Regions from separate parts of the Homo sapiens genome. Here regions 2 and 3 are each linked to region 1. Evidence: promoter capture Hi-C in 16 types of primary human blood cells and fetal thymus (Javierre and others, 2016). All regions are on one chromosome and are shown on one strand. The core of a region is centred on a gene start or on the middle of the fragment in contact, and the rest is flanking DNA. Distances in the headings are between cores, read along the strand shown.

Region 1 (4,889 bases), core at 670-3,169:
TCTAATCTGATAATATTGTTTGCTTCTCAGGGGATCCATATTAACACATTGTATTTGATCCACCAACAAATTTTATGTCATGTCTATCTCCTGAGTACCCCTCTTGCATCCATCCACTTCTCTTTATTGCCAACACTACTCAAGGAGGAACTAAGACATTTCTCCCCTGGATTATTGCAATAGTCATCTACTTCCATCTCACACCTTTCCAATCCATTCTCATCTCAGTAGCTGCAGTGATTATTTTTTTTTAATAGTAAATCAATTGTGTCACTTCCCTGCTTAAAACCTTTCAATAGCTTCTCATTATGCTTACAGTCAAATTAAATTTCTACCATGGCCACACAATACTTTAGAGTCTGGGCTCTTGCCTCTCTCTTCAACCTCATCCCATCTCATCTTCCCCTTTGTCCTGATGCCCACCAAGGCTCAGACATACTAGTGGCCTTTCTCTTCCTACAAATTGCTGAGTCCTTTCCTGCCTGAGGGGCTTCCGACTTGCTCTCCCTTCTTCCTAAAATACCCTTCCTCCATCTCTGCAGAAGGTGGACTCATTCTGACTCCTAGCCCTCAACTTAAATGTCCACTCATTTCCTCGCACCTAGTTATCACTCTCTGTCACCACTTTGCTTAGTGTCTGTTTCTCCCACTTGAACAAGGGCAGGCAAACTATGGCCCATGGACCACCATTTGTTTTTGTCTGGCCCATGATCTAAGAATGGCTTGTACATATTTAAGTGTTTGAAAAAGCTGCATTTTTAAAAGAATATTTTTTGACACATGAAAATTATGTGAAATTGGAATTTCAGTGTCCATAAAGTTGGAACTAGCAATGCTCATTTGTTCAGGTTTTGCCTATGCCTTCTTTTAGACTACAACTGCTGAGTTGAGTAGTTGTGCATGGCCCACAAAGCCTAAAATATTTACAGAACAAGTTTTCTGCATGTTGTACTGGAAAGTAAGGTTGAACGCCCATTATTTGTCTCTTCCAGTCCTTTACTCTCAGTGCTTGCTCCATAGCTAGTGCTTAATAATTACAGGTTGAACAAACCTTCCCTCTCTCCTAAGACTGTTAATATCTAAGGGGATAGGTTGACTTACCTCTCTTTGGCTTATTCTCTTCTAAGAGCCAGTCAGGGAAATTTGGAACCAAATATTTTTGATTTTGGGGAAGCACCTTGAAAACAGGACTGTTATATTTCTCTTGAAATATCTAGCACAGTACCTTGCACAAGGTAAGATGGTGCTAGAAACTGGAAGAACTGTTTTAGGGTTATCGTTAACAGGAAATTAAGTAGTGCATGCAAAGCACTTAGCACAGTGTCAGGTGTACAAAAGTGTTGAATAAATGTTTGCTCTCGCCTCAATTTTCCTTGCTATAATGGGAAATAAATATCACCCTTTATATCACTGTCACACAGACTAAACAAGAATGCTGTGTGTGAAAAAGCTTTGTAAGCTGCAGACACTATCCAGATAGACTTATCCAAGTGCAATATATTAACACACGTTGGCACTGAGCAGCCCTGTTTGGAGGGATGGGCACTGACCTGGGGGTGAGAACACTTAACATCCTAATTCTTGCCACTTATTAAGTGACCTTGGACAATCGCAACTTCTGCGGCTGTTTCTTCTCTTCACCTGTAAAACCAGCCTCTGAACACACAAGACCGTCCCTTGGGGTTCAGCCCTGGCCTTCTCTACCGTGTGTTTCCCTTACCTCCGGGATGGAAGACCCACCCGACTCCGAGGCGGCCCACTGGGGCGAGACGAATCTGGGGGCGGGGCGTGGCGTGGCGTGGCGTGCCCGGGACGTGGCCTCCCTCCCTCCCTGAGCCGCTGCCTCAGAGCCGGGCCGCACGGGGGCGCCGCTGGGGCCGCTCTGCTCCCGAGTTGCCGAGCAGCTGAGAAGGCGTTCACTTCCGCGTCCGCCCCGCGGCGTCCGGCGGCCGCGCCGAGGGTCTGGCGGGCCGCAGGTCAGTCTGGGAAGCTGCCGACCCGCCCCACCCCCCCGGTGCGGAAGAGCCGGGCGCGGGATGGGCCGCGGGCCCGGAAGGCGGCGGGGCGCCCTGAGGAAGGGCACGGGCCGCGCTGGTAACGCGCGCGCCCCGGGCTGCAGGCTCGGGCTTCGGGCCGATTTGGGGTCTCCAGGCCGCGGAAGACCGTGGCGGGGCTTTCTGGCTCCCCAGCTCCTCCCGGCTCTTCCCGCTTCGGAAGAGGAGTGTGAGCCCCTTGAGCGATGTTTTTCAAAGTGGGGTTCGCGGGCAGATCCCGACCCCTCCTCAGACTTTCTGAGGAACTGTGTGCTGTGGCCGGAGTGTCTTCGTTTTCCCAAGCGTCCCTGATGGTTTTGATGCAGGTGATCATAGGAATGCACTCTGGGGGACATTGTCCCCGAGGGCTGGACACTTTCCACATAGCAGGGAGCCTAACTGGGTGCTTTTGAGGATGGGGCCTGCGGAGTGCCCCCCTGGTGTGGCCTTGGAATGATGATGTTCCTATCCTTAGGAGAGACTGCCTGGGGTTGGGGTAGGAGGAGTAGCTCTTAAATCCTCGGGATCGGGGTGCTGCTGTGTTATCGTAGCCAAGTCTTGAGATGGACAGATGCTTAGAGAGTGAAAGGGCTGGGTCAGGATCCATAGGGGTGAAACAGTGCTGGAGGAGGCGGTGTGGGGTGAAGCAGGAAGAACTTGGGGTTCGTCCTGCCGTTCTGGATTGGGGCTGGCTCCACAACCTACTAGCAGTCAGTCCTTGTGTGGCCCCTGTACACATCACTCTTTTTTTTTACCCCAATGGCCTCATCTGTCAACAGGGACAGTAATTCCCATCCAATAGAGTTTTTGTGTGAATTAGGTAAAGTGTGTCAAGTGTCTCTTACAATGGCTGGCACATAATAAGCATTCAGTAAATGGGAGTTATTAAGAGTGACACAGGCCCTGGCTTCCTTGGCCTACAGACCAAAAAGTAGGGATTAAACAAGTGGGGTAAAAAGTGGACAGACACACAGTATATTTGTAGAATTGTGCAAGGATTCTAACTTGGGGGGCAGAAGGATACGTGGGACGGTCATGCAAGAAATTAGGTTTGCTGAAGGCCTTGAAGAATAGATAGGATTCCAGGGAGCCAGTAATGAGGCAGAGGGAACAAGTTCCATCCCATGCCTCAGAGGTGGCTCTCACACATGGATCTTTGGAGTGCTGCTCCCAGGACTTCTAGGCAGTGCGAGATGTCACATCCATAAGTGGTTTTGGAAGGCTGGACCTTTGGCCCATAATGGTTTCTGTTGCTGACCGTATTCTACACACATGGTCTTCCTCAGATTTTAATGGTCTCCTTCCATTTTATTGGAGACTAGCTGGCATCTACAAAACGATCTTAGTTGTTCACTGAGTAAAAGTGAATTGACATGGATGTAGTTGAGCCTTTTGGCAGCCATTTTCAACTTGCTATGAAATGTGTGGATACTGCAGATTCTCAATAATTGGGAGTACCTTTTTCATCACAGTATTGTTTTAGGTGGGAAAACACCACAGTGTCACTTGTGGTTCTGTGATCTCCAGAATGGATTAAAAAAATCCAACCCTTAAACCTTCCCTGGGCCTGGTGCAGTGGCTCACGCCTGTAATCTCAGCACTTTGGGAGGCCGAGGTGGGTGGATCACCTGAGGTCAGGAGTTGGAGACCAGACTGCCCAATATGGTGAAACGCCGTCTCTACTAAAATTACAAGAATTAGCCCGGCATGATGGTGTATACCTGTGGTCCCAGCTACTCAGGAGGCTGAGGCAGGAGAATTGCTTGAACCCGGGAGTGAGCCGAGATGGCGCCACTGTACTCCACCCTGGGCTACAGAGCGAGACTCCATCTCAAAAAACAAACAAGCAAACAAACAAAAACCCCCCAAAACTTCCCTAAAGCTTCATCCATTTCACAGTGAAGAAGCTGGATGATTTGGAGGTGTTATTTGTAGTTCTAGACTGGCCTGGCTACTGGTCTACATAGAATTCTGATCTCAGGCTGGGCGTGGTGGCTCATGCCTGTATACTCAGCACTTCGGAAGGCCAAGACAGGAGGATTGCTTGAGCCCAGGAGTTCAAGACTAGCCTGGGCAACACAGCGAGACCCTGTCTCATTTTTTAAAAATTTAAAAAAATTAAAAGAAGAATTATAATCTCAGTTGATAAATTATATATTCCTTAGTTACCTAACTTAAGAATTATAGTTATCATTGTTAATAATTCCTGCTCCTTTATTTCCTTACATTTCCAGAGTCAATATCAAGTCCCTCAGTAGACACCTTATGGTTAAATTTATATCATTATGCATAATATTTATAATTTATTGAATAGTTACCATGAGCTAGATTCTGCTCTTTTGCTGTTTTATATATTCTTTTAATTATTCCTCTTATAGTCCTTTGAGCTGGGCATCATCACTGCCTCCATTTTATGGAAGAGGAAGATAAGTAATTTGCCCAAGATCCTAGAGCTGGTGAGGGGAAGAGCCTAGCAGCTCAATTCCATGCTGTCCACTGATCTCTGCAGTCTAGAGGCTCCCTCAGACTTATCATGGTTAAAAAGATATGTGAATACTGAAGATCATAAGCAGGCCTCTCCTTTGTTTGCTGTGTGACAGAGAGTGCATTACCATGTTTAAACAGTCATTTCAACAGCAATGATTGGGTTGTTAGTCGTTTATTATCTTTTACAAATCCTCTTAGCCAACATTTTCCAACTTCTTAGCATATCTCGAAATTCTCTTATATTATATAAAATCCTTCAATTCAATAATGCCAGTACTGAGGAATTTATTTTCAGTCATGTTAAAGTATATTTATTATATTATCTATTTAGTGTCTTGTTGGAAATGGCGGGGATGACTGTCCTTTGTT
Region 2 (4,889 bases), core at 1,070-3,569, 570 kb after region 1:
GGAGAGAGAGAGAGAAAGATAGAGAGAGAGAGATCATGTATTGGCACATGGTCACATCATAGTATTTTAAAGCAGTGAACAAAGTTTTGCCCCAGTCTTCCTTAATATCATAGGGTCTAATCTAATTTTTTCTTTTTATGTTTCTGTAAATGCAGGATGTTGCAGATATCAGAAAGCAGTTTCCTTTGTTGAAAGGAGATATTAAGTTTCCAGAATTCTTCAAAGAGGAACAGTTCTTTTCCAGTGTTTTTCGAATTAGTTCACCAGGATTACAACTATGGACTCATTATGATGTATGCTACATAAATGAGAAATTTAAAGCTACAATAGATCTTTAGCATTATAGATTTAACAGTCACAGTTTCAACTTCCTATAGGTTACCCTAAACATCTGTGTAATTTGCTGAAACATGACTTTTGAAAATAGGTGCTGTGCATAGCAGTGATACAGGAATGAATTATTTTGCTAATGGCAAAGCCTAGTTGGTTCCTCACATTTGTATTTCCCTGTGGTCCTATTCTTGATTCATCATCATATATATACCAAGTTTTGTGAAGTGATTTTTTTTTCCATGTGAAAAATGGCCACCAGATAATGGGGGAAATTGTATTGGAAAAAGTGATAAGCCTTTAGTATAAGGAGGTATAAATGATACACATGACTCTGGCTACCCAGAGATCCATAACTCTCTGGGTCATGCAAAGTTATGTTATTCAGGAAAAAGGCTGAAGCTTGTTGAGTCATTACCAATTGTAAGAATTTGGGGATATCTGAAGATCTTAGGATATATATGCCTTGAGAATGTCAAATATCTGCTGTATTTGTAGGGCAGCAAAAATGTGTACAATATTGATCTTGATCTGCTGGGCGCGGTGGCTCACACCTGTAATCCCAGCACTTTGGGAGGCCGAGGCGGGCGGATCATGAGGTCAGGAGATCGAGACCATCCTGGCTAACACGGTGAAACCCCGTACCTACTAAAAATACAAAAAATTAGCTGGGCATGGTGGCGGGTGCCTGTAGTCCCAGCTACTCCAGAGGCTTAGGCAGGAGAATGGCGTGAATCCAGGAGGCAGAGCTTGCAGTGAGCCGAGATCGCACCGTTGCACTCCAGCCTGGGCGACAGAACGAGACTCTGTCTCAAAAAAAAAAAAAATTGATCTTGATTATTTATGATGTTATTTTGTTTGCTTAAATTTATGTACACATCTATAAGCGTTTTAAAAACATTAAAAATACTAGTATGGTATATGGTTTGGTGTTGGGAAGTAGAGAAACTTAAGGAAGGTAAAGGAATATCTAACAAGTTTCCAAAGAAAAAAAAATTTTTAAGTTCTAAATCACAGTATAACATTTTATACATGTGTTTTGTAATTCAGTTGAGACCCTCTTGGGAGGATTTTACCATAGTCAGTAAATCTGTAATTATGAAATAGACATGAACTCTTAGCATATTTTACAGTTTTATATGAATAACATGGTGAGAAAATCATGTGGTAATACATTTTAACTATATTCTATGATGATGATGATGATGATTGTTGTTGTTGTTTTTTGAGACAGAGTCTTGCTCTTTCACCCAGGCTGGAGTGCAGTGGCACGATCCTGGCTCACTGCAACCAGTCCCTCCCAGATTCAAGTGATTCTCGTATCTCAGCTACCCAGATAGCTAGGATTACAGGCATGCACAACCACACCCGGCTAATTTTTTTTTTTTTATTTTTAGTATACATGGGGTTTTGCGACGTTGGCCAGGCTGGTCTCAAACTCCTGGCTTCAAGTAATCCGCCCACCTCGACCTCCCAAAGTACTAGGATTACAGGCATGAGCCACCATGCCTGGCCTCTATGATTATGTTTTAAATTTTGAGTAGTATCCCCTTTACCTTGAATTATAATAGAATGTAATATATAAAGCTTTTATTATAAATTAAGTCAGAGGAACGCTAGTTTGAATTGTATAGTTATGGTTTACATGAGTAAAGGGTTAGTACTAAAAGGAAGAATGCTTAGGTAGAAGTAAAAAATCATGAATATATCTTGCTTAGTGCTTATCTTAAATCCTTAGCTGAGAATTATGTGACTCTGCCTTTAACATTTTTTCACAATCTATACCAAGAAAGTATACCATTACATTCATGGGAAACGATTGCTCCAATAATAAATATATATTAAGAAAATCTGTCATAAATCACCATACTGTTTGCAGAAAAGGAAAAAAAAAGAAAATCTGTGAGATTATATTCCTATAGAAATAATTTGAAAATCAAGATACCTATAATGAAATTATGGTTGAACATATATTAAGAGTGTAGCAGCAGTTGCAACAGTACCTTGTATTTTCCTAGCATCTGATTTTTCTAAGTGCTTTTACTCTGTTGTCTAATTTTGGGCTTATAGCATTCCTTAACAGATAGTAAATATTAACCAAGGGGAGCCTTAAATAGGCTTAACTATGCTGTCAGTTAATGGTGAGGCAAAGGCAAATCGTTTTCTGACTCCACATTTTCTAATTTGCCAAGTCTTCCCATTTTAGGGCAGTACTGCAGAAATGTCTTGAAGGCCCAGTTGTATATGGAATACAAATGTTTTTATTGTTAGGTAACTGTAAGAGTCTTAAGTAAGTCAAGTCTCATTAAAGGATCGGGTTTGCAGTTAAAGTTTAGCATGCCATTGGTTCTATTTATTTGAATTTTAGATAATGATTACCCATAAGCTTTTATTGGTCTTCAGGTAATGGATAATTTGTTAATACAAGTGACAGGAAAAAAGCGTGTTGTACTCTTCAGTCCTCGAGATGCCCAGTATTTATATTTAAAAGGTATGGGATTTTTTTTAAGTTTATATTTCAAAAGTCTATTCAGTTACTCTTTTTGAGAAATCTCTTGATTCTTATAGGAAAAGAACACTTCAGTACTTAATCCTAATTGTATTTGTGTATATATGTAATAACAGGTTCAAATTTGAAATTATCTTATTACATGGGTATCAGTCATCAGAATTAAAGAGTGAGTCATTGAAAATTGTCTTAGGTGTCAGTAGCATAGTAATTCTCACAGTGTTGGTACAGTAAGTAACTGGATAGAAAAGAATAAATTTTCAAATTTATATTTGTGATTACTTTTTTTAAAATGCTAACTTTGCTGAATCTATATTATCCCTTTTTGGAACTTTTTAGGTACTAAATCAGAAGTACTGAATATAGATAACCCAGACTTGGCTAAATATCCACTTTTTTCCAAGGCTAGAAGATATGAATGTTCCCTTGAAGCTGGTGATGTATTATTCATTCCTGGTAAGATTTCTAGACCTCACTAATGTGCTATTTATAAAATGTGTACTCTGTCACTCATCCTTCATGTGATTTTTTTTTTTTAGTACAAATATATATTTGTTATATGTATCCGGTCCTATACAAGATGATTTTTAGACAAAACTCTGTGTGTGCGTGTGTGTGTATGTGTGTGTGTGTGTGTGTGTGTGTGTGTGTGTGTGTGTGTGTGTGTTTAAAGCAGGCCTAGGCAAACTTATTATAAGTTAACAGCCCTTGTAGTTTTGGCCTATAAGTTAACAGGTCTTGCACTTTTGGCCTCAAGCAATCCTCCCAACTTGAACTTTGGGAGGCCAAGGTGGGAGGATTGCTTGAGGCCAAAAGTGCAAGACCAGCATGGGCAACATAGCGAGACCCCGTCTCGACAAAAATAAATAAATAAATTTAGTCAGGCATGGTGGTGTGCATCTGTACGTCCCAGCTGCTCGGGAGGCTGAGGCAGAAGGATCTCTTGGGCCCACGAGGTTGAGGTTGAGGTTGAGGAGGTTGATGCCATGGCATCATGGAATCACTGTACTCCACTGTGAGCAACAGAGTAAGACCCTGTCTCTGAATAAACTAAATTAACAGTCTTGCTTTCAAGGGCAACCTATAAAAATAATATTATACTCTATTTTACTAAGTGACATCAAGTAAGACACATTTTTTATAGCTTTTATTTATTTATTTATTATTATTTTCAAAGTGGGACACTTTATATCTGGGAAAAGATTATACTTGTTCGTTTTCTAAATTATTTTTTAAAAATAATATACTCTATTAAATGACATCAAGTAAGACACTTTATATTTGGGAAAAGATTATACTGATTGGTTTTGTAAATTATTTTATTTTAAAAATATTTCTGTATTTTAGAACTGTGTCACTTAAATATTTACCAAAAAAAAATGATAAGTATCTTTCAAGGCCAAAACAGATGAAAGATTTCATATTAAAATGTTATAATCTCAACACCTGTAGTATCATTTGTGTACATTATTTTTCTATACAGTCTGGATTTGTGTCACTTAATTTCTTTGTTCAATTAATAGGCATTAGTTTGAAAGTCCATAAAGTTCAACACAGCAAGGTAATTAACATCTGTAATTAATACTTAAAAGTGAACTCTTGAAGATTATAAAAATCATAATTAAAATTAAAGGGATATATTAACAAATTCTATTTATAGTTGTAGTTCCATATTTAAATTAATCTATTAAGAATCATTAATACTTTTCACTGATAAAAATAAGTAAATATTAATAAAGATCCATATTTGATGACTTCTTTTGGGACTAGATTATAAATTCCTTGAAGACAACTATGTTTTGTTCATCTTTGTCTTCCCCAAAAGGGCCAGATATGATATAATGGCTTTCATATAATTGATAATTTATAAAAAGTTGACTTTTTATTCTTATTTTCATTGAAAGCAACGAACGTATTAGTCTTCAAATCTATTGCCATCTTTTAAATTTACACTTTTGGTTTTTGTATCTTGGGAGCATGATTAAGATCTATGTAGTTTTCCCTTATTCTTCATACAATTGTTTTAAGAAAAAAAAAAATACTGAACATT
Region 3 (4,889 bases), core at 1,199-3,698, 540 kb after region 1:
AGCAGGTATTATAGAATTAAAGAATAATCATTTGGCAAATTATAAGGTAACACTGATTCATATAAGGATCATCTTCTGTATTAATTTCTTGTTGCTTATGTAACAAACTACCACAATGTAGTGGCTTAAAACAACACAGATTTATTATTTTGCAGTTCTGGAGATCAAATGTCTAAAATGGGTCAGTGTGGCTGCGTTCCTTCTAGAGGCTCTGGGGAGAATCTGTTTCTTGCCATTTCTTGACTCTAGATGCTGTCCACATTCTATGGCTGTCATGGCCCCTCATAGTTCCAACCTCTGCTTCCATCATCACATGTCCTTCTCTCTGACGCTGACCCGCCTGCCTCCCTTTTATAAGGACATCTGTGATAACACTGGGTCCACCCACATAATCCAGCATAACCTCCCATCACAAAATCCTGAATTTAATCATACCTGCAAAGTCCTATTTTGCCAACTAACCCCTGGAACACATGTTCACGTGTTCCAGAGGTTAGTATGTGGGCATCTTGTGAGCAGAATATTTACCAGGTATCAAAGTATCATCTCACAGATTACTTATTAACTATAAAGAGAAAAAAATGACTTTTACAACTGAGGGTTCTCATAATCACCACTCTAAACAATGGAACAATAAGAAATTAGGTACTGCCTGACGTTATATAATAGGAGGTCCGCAAATCACTTATATATTCTTGCCAAAAATGTTTCACCTGAATCTAATCAACTCTTTCGCCCTAACTTCCAGCTTACAGAAATGATGCCATAGAAAAACAAGCACATTCAAGATATGGGACATGCTGTGTGTCTACCATTCTAGACTTCTCCAAATTGCAGTGCCATAAATGAGGATGGGGATATTCTAAATTTTGAAACAAGGACTAAAGAGACATAACCAAATGCAACGGGTAAACCTTGACTGGATCTTGAATTAAAAAGTCATTTTAAAGACAACTGGTGAAATTTTAAATTTAAGTATTAGCTGATACTATGGAATTATTGCTAATGTACATGTGGTTATATAGGATAGTGTCCTTATCCTTTGGAAACACATATTGAAATATTAGGGTTGAAATATTAATACATGATGTCTGAAGCTTACTTTCAAATGCTTTCAATGAAAATATTTGGTCAAACACTATTCTAGATGTTTCTGTGAAAGTAGTTTTTGATGAGATTAACATTTAAACCACTATACGAATGTTAAATTTCTCTATATATGTTTCCATAGTTATCTATGTTTCTCTCTCTCTCCATAGATATGAGATAGATAAATATAAGTTTTGTTTCTCTGGGGAACTCTAATACAATACCCTTCTTTCAACTTTTCAGTATGTTTGAAATTTTTTCTAATGAAAAGTTAGGGAAAAAATTTAATTCAGATAATTTTTTAAAAACATTCAGGAGTTTTTAAAAACATTTTCCTGATCTAGCCAATGCTGACATTCAGGAGTTAAGTGCGTTATTTTGTAGCTCATAGCTATTCTTCTAGGAGAGAAAATTAGTCTTAATGGAGAATAGTCTGAGGAGCCTAGCCAACTAAAAATAAGCATCACCTGTTAGTTTGCAAATATTTTTGAGAATTTATTGTCTTAGTGGCTATGCTCAGTCCTGGGAAAAGAGTGGTAAGCCACCCAGAAGTAGTCCTTTCTAACTTCTTCCTGTGTCACTGTGTGTCCCATACTTGGCAAGCCAAGTTCATTTGGGTCAAAGTAGAACACATCTAACTAGTTCTTGATTTTAAGAGAATCTACAGGTTTTCTGATCAGGGAGCCTGTATTGATGATATAGCCACTTCGGTGAAAGCCAACAGTGACAGCTTCATATTTCAAAAGTCAGACAACTCCAGTGAACATGATATAAACTCTTTTCTTCCTCTGTTTGTTCCTCTGTGTGGTGTTCCTCACACCAACACAGAACACATTTAGAAAGCTTATTTAAAAACATGTCAAGTTCTCAGAGAGAGAAGAAGAATGGTTACCAGAGGCTGGGAAGGGAAATGGAGGTGGGGTGGGGGAGTGGGGATGGGGATGGTTAATGAGTACAAAAAAACTAGTTGGAAAGAATTAATAAGAGTTACTATTTGATAGCACAACAGGGTGACTATAGTCAATAATAATTGTACATTTTAAATAACAAAAAGCACATGATTGGATTGTTTGTAACACAAAGAATAAATGCTTGAGGGGATGGGTACCCCATTCTCCATGATGTGATTATTACACATTGCATACTTATTTCAAAACATCCCATGTACGTGCACCCCATAAATATATAACCCTACTATGTACCCACAAAAATTAAAAATAAAAAAATTTAAAAATAAGAAAATAAGTTCTGCTTTGGCCATAATAAACATTTATCCTGATGCCTTAAACACTAGACAACTCAGCAGATTACATGAAACTACTGTGCTCAAACACTGGACAGTAGGAAGCACAGTATTTTTATCTATGAAAGAAGAGAAACGAACAAGGCAGATCCTATGATAACCCAGATTTCTGTGTGGGGCACTTTCTAGACCACCCAGCCAGGGAAAAAAATCCCCAGCAAAACATGATAAACTTGCTGAATTGAGGAGACAGACATGGAAGGCCATGGAGTCTGAAGAGGCCAGAGGTGTAAGGCAAATGTTCAGACAGGAGCAAGCTATGCGGAACAAAACTTCAGAAGTTTGTATAGTAATTTCCTTGAGTTTTTAGTGAACTCTAAGCTATGAACAAAAGCTATAGAGTGAGACTCTATAAAGTCAAGCAAAGAGTGACTAGAAGCTGTGAAGTGAACAGTTCTCAGAGAGCCTGTAGTGCTGGGAATTCATTTGGGTTCCCTAAGCCAGCATGGAGAGTGCTGTCCTGTTTGATAACTCAGGGCATCCAGTAGAGACCCCATAAATTACTCCATACAAATGGGGCTACACTCTTGGTAGAGTAAAAACTAGTCTAGATAAACCCTAACAAAGCTTAACAATAGCCTCAAAAAAATCAACCTGAACCCCAAATAACCTAACTGGCTACCTAAGAGAACACAGTTCAACATTCTTCTCAAGGCAAATACTACCCAATGATACCCAGATATTCAATGACAGAAAATTCATAAATTCAGTGTCCAATAAAAAATTACTAGACCAGGCCAGGCCTGGTGGCTCACACCTGTAATCCCAGCACTTTGGGAGGCCAAGGCAGGAGGATTGCTCGGTCCAAGAGTTCAAGACCAGTCTGGGCAAAATAGTGAGAACTTGTCCCTATTTATTTTTTAAAAATTACTAGACCAGCCAAAAGCAGGAAAATGTGGCCCATAACCAAAAGAAAAATCACTTACTAGAAAGAGATTTTAAAGAAAGACAACTTTAAAACAACTGTTGGGCCAGGCAGAGTGACTCACACCTGTAATCCCAGCACTTTGGGAGGCAGAGGCAGGCAGATCACTTTAGCTAGAAGTTTGAGGCCAGCCTGGGCAATATAAGGAGACCCCATCTCTACAAAATCTACAATAATTAGCTGGACATGGTGGCATGCACCTTAGTCCCAGCTACTTGGGAGGCTGAGGTCGGAGGATCACTTGAGCCTGGGAAGCAGAGGTTGCAGTGAGCCAAGATCACACCACTGCACTACAGCCTAGGCAACAGAATGAAACCCTGTCTCAAAACAAACAAACAAACAAACAAAAAGCTGTTATAACTATGCCCAGCAAGTTAAAGGAAAACATGAACATAGAGAAGCTATGAGAAAGAATCAAATGGAACATGTAGACATGAAAACTAACACATCTGAAATAAAGCTGACATAATTCCACTCCCACCTTTCACTAACACAACACACTCTTCCTCAAAAATCCCTGTAAGATCAATGGTTTGCTCTGCTTGACAAGACTCCTCCCTTACTAAGGTAATAAATCAATTCAAATTTGGGGTTTTATATTGATTTTCAGTGGTGGTCTCATATTTTGACAACTATGAGGTTCCACCAAGGTTATTTTGATGACTCTAACTTAAAAATAAATAAAGGTGTCCTCATCAGGTCCCTTTGTGTCCAGATTTCATTTATCCTTTGGATTTGTTCCAAGTATATTTGTCTCAATATTGATCTGTACTCTGACTCTCAGTGAGCATGTATTGTTGAGTTTGTTAAATGAGGATTCCTATCAAAATAGTTCTTTGTAGATGGCATTGTCAATATTTTGGCCATTAATTTCATTATTCTTCAAGCGTGTGCTTGTTTTGCTTTAGTGCATCTACTAGTACAGAGTCTTGGCTTAGGACTTTTTTTTTTTCCTGTTTCTTTGTCTTTCATAGTCATTTTATTTCTTGGATATATAAGGGGGTTCTACATAGGGAATGAACAAAGGAATAAGTCCATTCAGCCTCCAATTCAATCCAAGTTGAGTCCAAGGACTATGAATTAGAGGTCCAGTAGACAATGACAAATTCATGATCAAACTTTGCCTTTTGTCCCCTAAACACCTTCATAGGGACACTTCCTCTTTTATCAATTAATGAAAGGCCATTTTGTTTAGTCCATATGCCAGGGTAAAAAATTGTCATGTCATTCATTGCATAGTCCCTTCTTAGCCCCAGTTGGTAGGTAACCCGAGATGCTATTCTTTAGCATATATTTTTGTTTGACTATAATGGCTTCTTTCTTGTTTGTCATGAATTTTTCTAAATTAAAGTCATAACTTCTTACTGGCAGAACTACTTTTTATATGAATTCTCACTAAAATACTAACTCACGTGCTCACCCTAGTACAGCAAAAATATTTTTAACTCAAAGTAGCAATGATTACCTTGGGGGACATTCTGATAGTCAAAATTAATACATTTAAGCAGAGCTCTAGAAAAATGAGGAAAACTAATAATATTCACAATTCAGTAGTCAACTTCTTTGGTGTGT

The links. The method cuts DNA at HindIII sites, captures the fragments that hold promoters and counts their contacts. A CHiCAGO score of 5 or more calls a contact.
Region 2: a contact is called between a fragment that was not itself captured here and the fragment with the promoter of KCTD18 in region 1, in 1 of 17 cell types (monocytes). The highest score is 5.1, in monocytes.
Region 3: a fragment that was not itself captured here is called in contact with the fragment with the promoter of KCTD18 in region 1 in 9 of 17 cell types (endothelial precursors, total CD4 T cells, total CD8 T cells and 6 more); the score reaches 9.4 in endothelial precursors.

Annotation. Positions count from the first base shown.
Region 1 is chr2:200,507,098-200,511,986 of GRCh38, reverse strand. It overlaps KCTD18 (potassium channel tetramerization domain containing 18), which reads left to right and starts at 1,919. Exons shown (of 7, transcript NM_152387.4): 1 at 1,919-2,359. RefSeq lists a silencer at 1,687-2,146. The HindIII fragment of the contact is 2,465 bases long and covers 1,453-3,917 here.
Region 2 is chr2:199,934,337-199,939,225 of GRCh38, reverse strand. TYW5 (tRNA-yW synthesizing protein 5) reads left to right here. Exons shown (of 8, transcript NM_001039693.3): 5 at 156-293; 6 at 2,734-2,821; 7 at 3,179-3,295. Among named protein-coding and RNA genes, the nearest start is that of TYW5, 19 kb to the left of the region's middle. The HindIII fragment of the contact is 799 bases long and covers 1,920-2,718 here.
Region 3 is chr2:199,967,904-199,972,792 of GRCh38, reverse strand. LOC124906112 (a long non-coding RNA gene) reads left to right here. Exons shown (of 3, transcript XR_007088012.1): 3 at 749-2,196. Among named protein-coding and RNA genes, the nearest start is that of MAIP1, 15 kb to the right of the region's middle. The HindIII fragment of the contact is 1,027 bases long and covers 1,935-2,961 here.